Linked DNA regions of Homo sapiens: all the other regions are linked to region 4. Evidence: promoter capture Hi-C in 16 types of primary human blood cells and fetal thymus (Javierre and others, 2016). All regions are on one chromosome and are shown on one strand. Each heading gives the region's core, a stretch centred on a gene start or on the middle of the fragment in contact. The rest is flanking DNA. Distances are from core to core; before and after follow the strand shown. Region 1 overlaps FAM120A (family with sequence similarity 120 member A). Region 2 overlaps FAM120A (family with sequence similarity 120 member A). Region 3 overlaps FAM120A (family with sequence similarity 120 member A). Region 4 holds the start of CARD19 (caspase recruitment domain family member 19).

The links. Contacts are between HindIII fragments. The CHiCAGO score rates a contact against its expected background, and 5 or more counts as called.
Region 1: a fragment that was not itself captured here is called in contact with the fragment with the promoter of CARD19 in region 4 in 1 of 17 cell types (total CD4 T cells); the score reaches 5.1 in total CD4 T cells.
Region 2: a fragment that was not itself captured here is called in contact with the fragment with the promoter of CARD19 in region 4 in 2 of 17 cell types (total CD4 T cells and neutrophils); the score reaches 6.6 in total CD4 T cells.
Region 3: a fragment that was not itself captured here is called in contact with the fragment with the promoter of CARD19 in region 4 in 2 of 17 cell types (monocytes and naive CD8 T cells); the score reaches 5.5 in monocytes.

What each region holds. Positions count from the first base shown.
Region 1 is chr9:93,476,571-93,480,023 of GRCh38, reverse strand. The region is part of intron 3 of FAM120A (family with sequence similarity 120 member A); the gene reads right to left. Among named protein-coding and RNA genes, the nearest start is that of FAM120AOS, 25 kb to the right of the region's middle. The HindIII fragment of the contact is 641 bases long and covers 1,716-2,356 here.
Region 2 is chr9:93,497,492-93,500,792 of GRCh38, reverse strand. It overlaps FAM120A (family with sequence similarity 120 member A), which reads right to left. Exons shown (of 18, transcript NM_014612.5): 4 at 3,194-3,301; 5 at 1,907-2,003. Among named protein-coding and RNA genes, the nearest start is that of FAM120AOS, 46 kb to the right of the region's middle. The HindIII fragment of the contact is 6,327 bases long and covers 1-3,301 here.
Region 3 is chr9:93,517,403-93,520,630 of GRCh38, reverse strand. All of the region lies in intron 7 of FAM120A (family with sequence similarity 120 member A), which reads right to left. Among named protein-coding and RNA genes, the nearest start is that of PHF2, 58 kb to the left of the region's middle. The HindIII fragment of the contact is 2,170 bases long and covers 797-2,966 here.
Region 4 is chr9:93,094,957-93,098,024 of GRCh38, reverse strand. CARD19 (caspase recruitment domain family member 19) reads right to left here and starts at 1,808. Exons shown (of 6, transcript NM_032310.5): 1 at 1,673-1,808. The coding sequence starts at 1,679. LOC101927993 (a long non-coding RNA gene) reads left to right here and starts at 2,515. Exons shown (of 4, transcript NR_188444.1): 1 at 2,515-2,657; 2 at 3,011-3,068. RefSeq lists silencers at 1,451-1,560, 1,581-2,330, 2,351-2,660 and an enhancer at 2,771-2,820. The HindIII fragment of the contact is 15,908 bases long and covers 278-3,068 here.

The DNA.
Region 1 (3,453 bases), core at 787-3,286, 380 kb before region 4:
AACTAATAAGGCAGGACAAAACAGAATTTGGCTCCCATCCTAGCTTTCCTCTCTGCAGATATTACCCAATGATTTAACAGTTGTTCTCCCTTGTGCTTCTGAGCCCGCAGAGCCCCAAAGCAGACGTGCTATTCTTTCAACACAACCAGGGCTGTGGACAGTCAGGGAGGACTTCACAATTTCTAACTGATGTAGCTGGTTCGATGACAGTCAGAGAGTTAAAAATTTACAGTGAATGAATGAATGCATGTAGTGAAATTGGTAAAGACACATGTTTAAAAGATGAGTCTAAGGATGCTACTTATAAAGAAAACAAAAATTCATAGTGCTGCCAACATACTGAAGATTTGGAATCACATAAATTATCGACTACTGATGACTTCCTATCCATGGTATTTTGTGATTTTCATCAGATGGTAAAAAGATGAAATTTTCTCATGATTTTTATTGGTTCCCTTTCTAACAGAGTATACTGGAAAAATAGCTGTTAAGGACACGTGACTTTGCATCCTCAAGCTTAAGCCTCCTTGGTCCATCCCTTTTATCATATTATATTTGTACTATTTTGCCAAAGCCAAATTTATTATTGTTCACAGAGGGCTGGTGTTCTATGAAGTTAATATCTAATCAATTCAAAGCACCTCTTAAAATGCAATACCCTACTTTGGGAGGCCGAGGCGGGCGGATCACGAGGTCAGGAGATCGAGACCATCCCAGCTAAAACGGTGAAACCCCGTCTCTACTAAAAATACAAAAAATTAGCCGGGCGTAGTGGCGGGCGCCTGTAGTCCCAGCTACTTGGGAGGCTGAGGCAGGAGAATGGCATGAAACCGGGAGGCGGAGCTTGCAGTGAGCCGAGATCCCGCCACTGCACTCCAGCCTGGGCGACAGAGCGAGACTCCGTCTCAAAAAAAAAAAAAAAAAAAAAAAAAATGCAATACCCTAATCTTAAACCTCTCATCATTTCAACATAATACAAAAACACAAAGAATATTTCAGAAAATAAAACTCAGAATATTATGGAAGATATGTAACAACTATCCAAATTTTCAAAAGATGCAATTGGTTTTACAACTGGGGAAAAACAAAGAGACTAAAATAGCAGGTGGGATACATACAATTCTGTAGCACATCCATCAGTCATGCTCATGGGGAGTAAAACCACATCCAATTTCCCCTATGTATATTAAAATCACTGAAATGGTGCTGCATACAAAAATGTGAATGAAGGGTCAAAACATTAAAGTGAGCCGGGTGCTGTGGCTCACACCTATAATCCCAGCACTTTGGGAGGCCAAGGTGGGTGGATCACCTGAGGTCAGGTGTTCGAGACGAATATGGACAACATGGTGAAACCCTGCCTCTACTAAAAACACAAAAATTAGCTGGCGTGGTGGCAGGCGCCTGTAATCCCAGCTACTTGGAAGGCTGAGGCAGGAGAATCACTTGAACCCTGGAGGCAGAGGTTGCAGTGAGCCGAGATCTCACCCCTGTACTCCATCCTGGGTGACAGAGCAAGACTCTGTCTCAAATAAAAACATTAAAGTGGCTAACAAATGCAATTTCTGAACTTATCTCAAAACCAGGTGCACTTGCATTTCATGTGTGACTTTAAAATCCTACAACGTATCAAGTCATCTGAAAAATAATTTAGGATTTCTTCTCCAATATGCCATAAAAGTACTCAGCTAATATCAAAATGCATGCATAAAGCTTGACTGGATCTCGATCAAAAAAAAAAAAACCTATAAATGACTCTGAAAAAATTTGAATATGGGCTTAATATTAAATGATATTAGACACTGCACTCCAGCACAGGTGACAGAGCAAGACCCTGTCTCAAAAAAAAAGATATTAAAGAATTATTAATTTAGTTGATGTCATAGGAGTAATATGATAAAGTATCAAAATGTCCTTATTTTTAGGAAGTGATGGAGCAAGCTGAAGTGGTGGAGCAAGCTGACATTTTCATGGGTAAAGTGTCATATCTGCAACTTACTTCCAAATAGTTTTTGTTAAACAAAACAAAACACAGACATATACTTTATGGCAAAATGTTTATAATTGTTGAACCAAGATGGGGGATATACGGATACACATTTCTCTATTCTTTCCACATTTCAATACTTAAAGATTTTCTCAACAAAATTTAGGAAAAACACACATATAATGATGTTATTCACTTGGCAATAGATTGAGCTGGTTTTCCAATAATTCTTCAAACAGCTCTTCACTTCTAACCCTGTGACATATGAAGCAGGGCTAGTTTAACTTAGACATACACATATAGCCAGAAACCTTGGGAGTATCTCACTCCTGCTCTTCAAAACAAAATAAATCTTGTAGGAAACAAGCTTTCATTTGTGTCTCACTTACAAAAGCATAATGCTTAACAGAGCTACTGAGCACAGGTGCAGTGCTCTTAAGTCCAGCTGATTACACGCTGCATTTCCCCAATCCACATTTCAATCATGGCATCACCAGAAGCTTAGAGTCCGAATGACAGATCACATCACTTCATTCATGAAAACATACAGGAGGGATTCTATGGCCAGAAATGTAATTTCTAACAAGAGAAGAAAAACTAATTTTTGAACAAGAAGTTGAAAACAGTCCATACCAAACCCCATTAGGGTGAAAAGGAGAACATTTTATAGCATGCCAGAGATGAAAAAGAAAAAGCATGCCAGAGATGAAACAGCAGGGAACAAAATGAAAGGAGGAAAGGAATTCTACTTCAGCTTTTGGGTATCACCAGAGTTAAAGGTAAATTAAAATGTAGGAAGAAAAACTCCCATTTGAAACTAGCCACCAATTAAAATTGTTTATGGAGGGAGGGTAATTACGACAACATTCAAAATTTTACAGCCCTTCGGAAAACACCCAATTTAACCGCCACTCTTTACTGTAAGGAAGCAGTCCCAGGGTGGGAAGCAGATACAAAGTCTAGGTCCCCATCTTCCTAATTCCCCAAGTCAAGAAAGGCACTTGAACTGACAAATGATCATTACAATCACAGGAGTCACTAACAAGTCCAAGCTGAAGTTTTCCAGTGCCTCGTGCATATCTCACTCATTACTCCTATGCTCACATCAAACACAGACACTTCCACTGCAGAAAATCAGAATTAAGTGCCTCATCTCTGATGTTTATTACTATCACAAACAGGAAGGGAATCAAAAGGGAGAAAAAGAATATTAAGTTTTAATAAAATAGTACAAATGGATCACTTCCATTTGAGTCTCCCTCATCATCCAAAAAGCTTTATAAACTATTTTATAATTGTAGAAAATTAGTTATGAAATTTATCAACTATGCAAAGATGTTGCTCTAAGTGACAAGTAACTATACTACCTAAAGACAAAATTAAAATTTTTAAGTAAGAAAATTAATATATAAAACATCAGCTCAAAGATTTCCTTCTATCTAGGTACACAGCACAAAGAATTCCTT
Region 2 (3,301 bases), core at 451-2,950, 400 kb before region 4:
GTGCAGGGTATACAGTAGACACACTGAGATCTGGTCCCATAATGCCTCACCTTAACTGATGAAACAGTATACAGCTAGTCTCCCTCCTGCTGATGCTCTGTGCCCCCTTTTCCAAAAATAATCCTAAAACACATCTCACCACTTCACTCTCTTGATTTAAAAACCAAGTGGATCAATTCATTCAGTCAAATATTTATCCACTGGGGATATAAAAGTAAAGGTGACTAATAGGCCCTCATTACCCTAGACTTTACATTGTGGGGAGTGACGGGGGAAGGGGTGGTGGTGGTGACAAATAGAAGCCAAGGAGTGTGCAGAGATTTAAAGCCAGGCAGACCTTGGAGAACACGACAGCCTGGATCTCACAAATCAGAAGGGCACAAACACAAGCTGGTCAGAGAAAGGAGCCCTCCAGGCACAAAAGCCGGCCCAGAGGCCCAGGGCAGAAGCTAGCTTGGTTCATGCAAGGCAAGAAAGGAGGCTGCGCTCAGGAGTGAGAAGCCAGCAGTCTCAGATGATGGGGAGGAAGCAAGGTAAGTAGTTGGGAATTTATTCCAAGTGTGACGGGAAGCCAATGGGGAATTCTGAGCATGGGAGTAGCACAGTCCAACTGCCATTTTTAAACATTACTTTGGCTGCTGGGAAGAAAATGGATTGCAGGGGAGCAAGAGAGCAGCAAAGAGCCCCACTGGGAGGCTGCTGCCATTTACTGACCTCGCAGTGGAGATTCAGCCACTCCATGCCCATCTCCAGGTTACAAGCCCTACCTCCTTTATTACAGGGCATCGGCACAGGCCATGTTTCCCTGTCCACCACCCAGCCACATACATAGGCAGCCAAAGCCAGTGCCATGCCTCTGATCTCCAATGCCCAGTTCCTAGCATACAGCAGACACTATGCTTGAATAAATGAAGGGTGCAGCTCTTAAGGCCACTTTCAATCTTGGAATTAGTCTTCTCAAATAAATACAAAGTCTCCTTCCAGTAAGAGTCTCTTGAACATGCAATCATTCTTTTGTTAACTTAGATGAAGCAAACAACACAATTTAAATGAGAGTTGGGGTCTATTTCTCATACTTCTACTTACAGTTTAGTGCTTTATAACCTCCACAAGACGTTCAATATGAAGCAGGCTTCAGGCTAACAGCTTATAAATATTTTTATTTCCCAATTTCAAATCTCTGAATTAACTTTTGGTCTTTTGCAGGCTGAACGTGGTGGCTCATGCCTGTAATCCCAGCATTTTGGGAGGCTGAGATGGGCAGATCGCTTGAGGCTAGGAGTTCGAGACAAGTCTGGCCAACATGGTGAAACCCCATCTCTACTAAAAATACAAAAATTAGCTGGGCATGGTGGCGCATGCCTGTAATCCCAGCTACTTAGGAGGCTGGGGCACAAAAATCACTTGAGCCTGGGAGGTAGAGGTTGCAGTGAGCCGAGGTCACACTACTGCACTCCAGCCTGGGCGACAGTGCAATACTCTGCTCAACAACAAAAAAGAATTAAAAAAAAAAAAAGGCAGGGGTCAAGAAAAGAGAGACTACAAATACACTGCATTTATGAAATCACTTGCAGTTGTGGAGGCCCTTCTACGTCCTCAGGCAATTCTGTATTTAGAAGCGGATATCTCAGAGCTGCCAAGACGTCAACATCCCCTCGACCTGCTGCCTCATCTGCACAATGCCCTCTGATTCTTCTTCATCCTATGAAGGCTGTTAAGTTCTCTTCCTCCTCAATATTTTCAGGGATTGCTACTGAGTCTGCCCAGGAAGTTTGGCTATACTTACTGGCATAACTACAGAAAATCATGTTTCAAAAACATAAACCTACAAGATTATATGGTGAATATTTAAACCTACTTGGATTATCATATGGTCAATATTGATCACAGGCTTTTATTTACTTACCTAAGTAATGTGGTGGATGAAATGACATAGGCTTACTAGTCGCTGAATAATATCCAATTGCTCTCTTAAATCGAATAACTTTGTCATCTGTTCTAGACTGAAATAAAGGCAGGAAAACCTTCATAAATTAGTGTGCCACTGGTCATGTGTATCACAATGTTTTTTATAATTCAGCACATGTATAATATTCTACAGCTTTTCAAGTTAGAGAAGAATTTTGAATGACATTAAAACTTTCAGGGAAAATCAATAGATTACTACAAAAGAATCAAACCAAACGTGAATTCTTTTAAAGCAATGTAGTCACAAGAGCAGAACTCCAAAGTGGTAGTCAGGGCCCTGGGTTCTAGCTCTAGGACTTCCCTGACTTCCACTCTGCTCGGTCTCTGGTCCTGCCCAGAGAGGAATCTCAAGCCATCTGTACCAAGGGAACGGATGGCAGTGACAGACTGGGGATGTTCCTGCCCAGGGTTTCAGCTCTCTCTTTTTCTTCTGAGACGGAGTTTCGCTCTTTCACCCAGGCTGGAGTGCGGTGGCATGATCTCCGCTCACTGCAGCCTCTGCCTTACGGTTTCAAGCGATTCTCCTGCCTCAGCATCCCGAGTAGCTGGCATTACAGGCGCCCACCACCACGCCTGGCTAATTTTTGTATTTTTAATAGAGACAGGGTTTCACCATGTTGGCCAGGCTAGTCTCAAACTCCTGACCTCGTGATCCGCCCGCCTCGGCCTCCCAGAGTACTGGGATTACAGGCATGAGCCACCGTGCCTGGCTGCATTTCAGCTCTCTAGAGACACAGCAGGAGTTTCACAGAGCCTTGCCTATTCTACTGATGCCAACTTGTTGGCACACCTACTTCCCCAAAAAAGAAGAAAATCCCTGACAATCACCTGAAGAAAACAGACAAATCAGAGATTTATAATGCCATATGACTGACTTGATACAGTTCATGTTCTGAAAACTCTGAAATACAGATCCTATTAAGTTAAGATCGAGAACTTATGAGCAGGAGACCTCACCAACCGTCTAACTGAATCTCCCTTTTATTCAGCCTGGAAAAGCTGGGTGAAGTGGCTGAGACTTCCTGGCTGGCAGGGAACATGACCAGGCTACCTCAGCCTCTGGCCTTGCAACCTGCAGCTTTCTTCCAGTGGCCTGAGCAAGAGCTCTCAGACCCATCCAGTCAGCTTGCACCCTCAAGTCCCCTTCTTCCAAACCTGGCCACACCACTATGCAACGTCATATCCCATGAATCTGTTTTTTTGTTTTGTTTGTTTTTTTTTTTACCTGTGAATGCTGGAAAACATCTTTAGCTATGGCATCCAAGTCAGAGGTGTCCTGAATGTTGCGTACATAGTCAGCAACGGCTTTGATCACTACGTCGCAAGGTGGCAA
Region 3 (3,228 bases), core at 632-3,131, 420 kb before region 4:
CGCATGCTCGCAGCTCTGAGAAGTCCACAAGTCATGACAACATTCAGCAATGCTCAGTGGCGACAGCCAGGACCCAATAACTCCACCCATAACCGCCCACCACATTTTATTTTTAAAAATAAATGTTTGACAATTTTATAGGCTTTTGTAAAAGGTATCTTATGGTCTAAGTTGTAGAATTTTGATATTCTTAGTGACGGTGAACAACTTTTTATGTTTCTTGATGGCTGCTTCCCTTGTGAATTCCATGCTTATACCTTTAAGAGATGAGATGAGATCTCACTACATTGCCCAGGAGAGAGCGCATTGGCCATTCACAGGTATGATCATAGCTCACTGCAGCCTCAACCTCCTGGGCTCAAGTGATCCTCCCACCTCAGCCTCCCGAGTAGCTGGGACTACAGGTGTACAGTACCATACCCAGCACAGTTGTATCTTTTTCCATTTAAAACAGTTGCCATCAGCTGCACACAGTGGCTCATGCCTGTAATCCCAGCACTTTCGGCAGAGGTAGGAGGATTGCTTGAGGCCAGGAGTTTGAAACCAGCCTGGGCAATACAGCGGTACCCCATAACTACAAATAATACAGGTTAGCTGGGTGTGGTGGAACATGTCTTTCGTCTCAGGTGGAACATGCTAAGGTGTGAGGATCACCTGAGCCCAGGAGTTTGAGGCTACAGTGAGTTATGATGGTCCCACTGCACTCCAGCCTGGGTGAAACAGCAAGACCCTGTCCCTAAAAAAATAATAATAATAATTTTAGAAAACCACTTACCTTTTTAATTCATAGGAAGCTTTTTTCTTTTTTTGTTGTCTCTTTTTTTATGTAACAATCCCCATCGCCCATCACTACCACCCTTTAAAAGAGTGCCACTGATTCATTGTTGGGGAAACTAGGCCATTTATTTTGCAGGGTGTCCCACATTATTCCTTCCTTGTGGTATCACTGAACGTACACTACAGAAGACAGGAGAAGTTAGGTCTGGACAATGAAAGGCAGAGTGCAGCAGGTGGGGTCACACCTTGCTATGCATCTAGAAGGCCAATCGCCTCCGCTATTTTACAGTCTAGAAATTATAAATGTTTCTGGCCAGGCACGGTGGGTCACGCCTGTAATCCCAGCACTTTGGGAGGCCGAGGTGGGGGGATCACCTGAGGTCAGGAGTTTGAGAACAGCCTGGCCAACATGGTGAAACCTCATCTCTACTAAAAATACAAAAAATTAGCTGGGCATGGTAGTAGGCAACTGTAATCCTAGCTAGTCAGGAGGCTGGGGCAGGAGAATCGCTTGAACCTGGGAGGCAGAGGTTGCAGTTAGCCGAGATCATGCAATTGCACTCCAGCCTGGCCAACAAGAGTAAAATTCCATCTCAAAAAAATTTAAAAATACATACATATATATAAACATTTCTACCATCAATATATTTTAAGACCAGAGTTCTGGAGTTCAACTGTTTCCACCAGCTGAATGGTCTGACTGTCCGGAGACCCACTGTCCCGAGGGCAAATGGCATCAAGGTGTGAGTAAACTCACCTCCAAAGAAACACCAGGGTCTCTCCAGCCTAAGGTCATGCTAAGCACACTCTGGATCAGGAGTGTCTAACCTTTTGGCATCCCTGGGCCACACTGGAAGAAGAAGAATTGTCTTGGGCCCCATATAAAATAGACTAACAATAGCTAATGAGCTTTAAAAAAAAAATCAGAAAAAAAATCTCAATGTTTTAAGGAAGTTTATGAATTTGTGTTGGGCCTCCATCCTGTGCTGCGTGCGGCCCGTGGGCCACGGGATGAACAAGTTTGCTCTAGATGTTTCCCGTGGCACGTAGAACACATCCAGCTGTGCACGGCCCAGCCCTGCTGGTCCTCACACCACAGGCCATCAGCTGGCTCACTTCTTTCTCCCAGTTTTCCTGCCCTCCTTTGCTCTGGTGCTCCCAGTTCCCCGCTCCTCACTCTCGGCATGTCTTCTTCACGCACTCGTCAGGGCTTCTATGTTCACTGCTTACATACTCTCCTCCAGAATGCAAGCTCTGCGCACAGACCTCATCACTCCTGTCCTCTGCCCTGTTCACTGGTAAATAAATGCCCAAGTATTTCTTGCTAAGAGAATGAATAATTTCTGTTCCCTTAGGGCCATCCTGAAAAGGCAACGTAGGTCCCGGGGTCCTCATTCAATTCTAAACCAAAGGGTAAAAAAGTAGTGACTTTTTTTCTAAACTATAAAAGCAATTCTTTGTTCTCTTATGCACAGCCTAAGGGGCACATTATACACTGCAGATACAACCAATTCAACACACTAGAACCCTTGCTGAAAATCATGAACACTGTCTCTACTTGGCACACGCGTCATACCCCTGCACCTGCCACAAGCAAAGGATGCCTGTGATCAAGGGTTTCACCCCAAGTTGAATGCTAGTTTCTGACCCCAAAGCCTTCAGGAACAAGCACCCTTGTCTCCTCTGCCTTCATTCATCTCAAGTCTAACATGTCTGTCTCTTCCTTATTATAGGGTGTACCCTGCATTCCTCATGGCACTTCATACCACAAGGATGGCAAAACACAAGACCCCGAGCAGGTCAAATTCCAGTGGCAGAAACAAGATGCATCTCCAGAAAACAGTAAAGATGCCATACCAGGAATAAAGACAATAAGCACTTGGAGAGGTCAGATGCCCAGAGCTCCAAAAAGCTGACCAGAACCTTCACAGACAGGTAGGAAGTGCATACCCAGAAAAGACAGGACATGCTCAGGCAGTCCTACTCACTCCAAGTTCAGCTCATCCTAACAAAGACAACTTGCCAAATTAGATGGGCAACTCACATTCTTCTCAATCCCTCCCCACCGGAGGAACAAGCACCTCAACTGAAACATGCCCCAGTCACCACCCACGTCCCCAAGTCAGCACCTTGACCTGGTTTCCACATCTCCATCACTAGCATGGAACTCTTGTTGGGGTCATAAAGCTTACTTCTTTTGCTTTTTGTCTTACTTCTTACCTATGTTTCACAGTTTAGAAAGAACATTTCTTACTAAGACAAAAACTGTATTGTACAGACACTTGGACCTTGCTGACATGAGTCACGTTTTACAACAAAATGCACATGCCTTAGAAATCTGGCACATAAGGGCTTCCAAGACCATCAAGCAGTTGTTCTCAAACTTCAGTGTGCTAAAGACTGACTGAGGTGCTTATTTAAAATGCAAATTTGGGGGCCCCAACCAGAGAT
Region 4 (3,068 bases), core at 559-3,058:
GGCAGGACCCCAGTTGGTGCATGGAGGCAGTGAGCCTGGGACTATGGGTCTGCAGCCTCGCAGGGCTGTCCATATGACCCTCCCAGAGCTGTGCTCCATGGGCCTTGGTTCCCCATCCCAAAAACTAAGGGTTGTGAGGGAATGTCTCCAGGCCCAGTGAGTAGACATAGCAGGTAGGAAGCATACACTGGACAAGGTGAGGCCTATAGTCAGAGCCTTCAGGGACCCCTGCCTGATGTGGTTTCCCAGCTCCAGGGTCCCCTTATGCAAGGAAGCTTCCCTGACAGGCAGAAAGGGACAAAGTCCCTTTGTGCAGGAAGGCTCCTTAATGGACAGCAAGGCCTCAGGCTCTGCCAACACCCAGTCCCTGGGACAGGGCTCCCTGGAGACCAACACAGCTCTGAGTTGTGTCCCACGCATTCTGATGAACTCACTAAGGGAATTACGGAATCCCAGCCTGGGCAGGGCACAATTTAAGACTTTGTTTCCCCATCTGTACACAGACGAGATATTCCAGGTGTCCCCATCTGATCATTTTCAAACAGGAATCACCCAACACAGGGTCCAATGCACAGTAAGTGCTCAGAAATGAGAGCCACAAATAAGAAGAGTTAGAAGGGAGGACAAAGGGGAGCAGGTGGCAGCTGGGGTCTCTTGTGGCCTAGGCTGGAAGTCTCTTCTGGCCTGGTGTCCTGGAAGTCATCAGTTTCCAGCCCATGAGATCCTATTTGTGGGCAGGACCTAGGCTGAGACTCAAGAGAGCGAGCACCGAGAGAGGACTAGGGACTTCTGGGGCTACCCTGAGCCCCTGAGCCAATTCTGCTCCATGAAACAGAACAGTAAGAATGAAGTGTAGCTTCTGGGAACCCCCATACTCCCTGGCCGGGCTGCCATGGGGTCCCTTACCAGCCCATCACCCTCATGGGGCTTCTCCAACAGGGGAAGGTCCACAGGGCAGAGTCACCCTGTTTGGGATCAGGAGGATGGTGGGCAGGTCCCCAGACCAGAGAGGCCCTGGGGAGGAAGGCTGGGCTGGGGCCACTAGCGTGGAGCACAACAACCTTGGGGGGTCCAGTCGCTGTCCCCGATTCTCTTAGAACTAAACAGGGGCAAGAGCGTCGTGGACCACCGAAGGAGTCTGGGAGACTCCAAGAGTCCCACAGGAATCACATGCCGCCGAGGAACGCATCGCCTGTCCCGCGACCTCGCTGGGGTGGTTGTAAGGATGGAGCGTTGTTTCCGTGGCCAGAATCACAGCAGGACCGCTGTGAATTCTCTCCGGTGTCATTTCTACCACCTCCTACTCTTTCAGACCAAATTCCCCACCACGGGACACACACACATTGGCAGTGGCTGAGCCCAGACCGCGGCTGTGCAGCCCCACCCTGGAGCTGCCTTGTAGCCCCCGCCCTCTTCGGGCCCCGCACCTGGCCACCACCCATCATGCCCGGCACCGCCTCGGCTGGCACGGCCCCGCCGGGTAGAAGCCCCGGGACACCCACCACTTCGCGGGGGTGCACTCGCGCACCACCGACAGCTGACGGGCCAAGGTCACTCGGCCCCCGCTGCCCAGGCGCGGCCTGCAGGCGACTCGCAAGGCAGCCGGACCCCCGGGCCGGGCCACCCATCCAGGGCGCCCGCATCCCTGCCGCCCAGCCGACCCCGTGCCCACCTGTCATGGCGACGGACACAGCGCCGCCCGCAGTCCCCAGCGGTCTGCCCCGCCGCGCGTCCGCCCCTCGGTCAGCCGCCCGGTCCACCAGCTCCAGCGAACGCCGCCCGCGGGCCGTGCTCGCCCGCCCCTTTTGGCTAGGCCAGCCCCCCGGCTTTGGCTGTGTAGCCTCGGGGACTCTAAACCCCGCCCTTTGACGAGCCCCGCCCCCTACCGTTAGGCCCCGCCCCTTCCGCGCCCGCTACGGCTCCCCCAGGGCTCTAAACTCCGCCCCTCTCACTCGAGTCCCGCCCCCTTGCCGTCCTGGGATAGGCCGCTGCGAGGATCCTGGAGCCTTGCCCCTCACTCGAGCCCCGCCCCCTCCGGCGTCGGCTTCCGCCTCTCCCGGAGTTCTGAGCCCCGCCCTGCACCTGAACCCCGCCCCCTCCGACGACGGCTTCCGAGCCTCAAGGAACCCCCCACCGGGCCCCGCCCCTTACTCGAGCCCCGCCCCCCTCCGTCGTCGGCCTCCGCGCCTCCAGGGGCCCTGAGCCCCGCCCCTTCCTGCTCTGCCATGCGACTGCGGGCGTGGGCGGGCGACTGCGGGCGTGGGCGGGCGCCACCGGACTCCCGCCCCTCCCAGCGTCAGTTAAGACGCCGCGAGGGGCCCAGAGTCCCTCCCCTCGCTGGGCCCCGGTCCCGCCGGCGTCTATAACGCCGTCGCAGCGGCCTTTAACCCCGCCTCTCACTCGAGCCCTGCCCGCGTCCAAGTCCCGCCCTCAAGGCGGCCTCAGCTACGACCGCCGCGCGCCTCCCTGGAGGCGCCCGCTCCTGCCCGGAGCCCTGCCCGTCTTGGGCCCGCCCTTCCGGGCCCTGCCGCGTTGAGTGGCGGAGTCGGGATCCAGGTGGCCCGCCGGCCGGCTCAGTCCACCTCCCCGCTCCCGGCCTCGCGCCCCACCCCTTGGATGAGAAAACTGAAACTGAGAGGGGACGTGACTGATCCAACGTCATACAGAAAGTCAGGCCCTGGGGAGTACAGGGCCAGGCCTGGGGCAAAAGGCCGGTGGGCGTCCAGTACGCCACAGGGACCAGCCAAAGGAGGCAGTGCCCAGTGATGCTTTCCCAAATCCAGGGGAGAAGGACTCAACGGTGTGACCTCGCTCGGCGGGGTGGGGGGGGGACACCTTCTTGGGGGACCCCAGTCCCCCACCTTCAAAAGAAGACACTAGCTTGACAGTGTGACCCGAACTAGAGAGGTCACTTAACCTGCCTGAGCCTCAGTTTCCTGGACTGTAAAATGAGTGACCTTGGGCCAACTCCACTTCCCTCCCGCTTTCCTTCCTGCTTTCCCTCTCGTAGGCCTGGCATTTCCAGCTCCGGAGCCCGCCACAAGAAGCTCCTAGCCCCACATGATGTG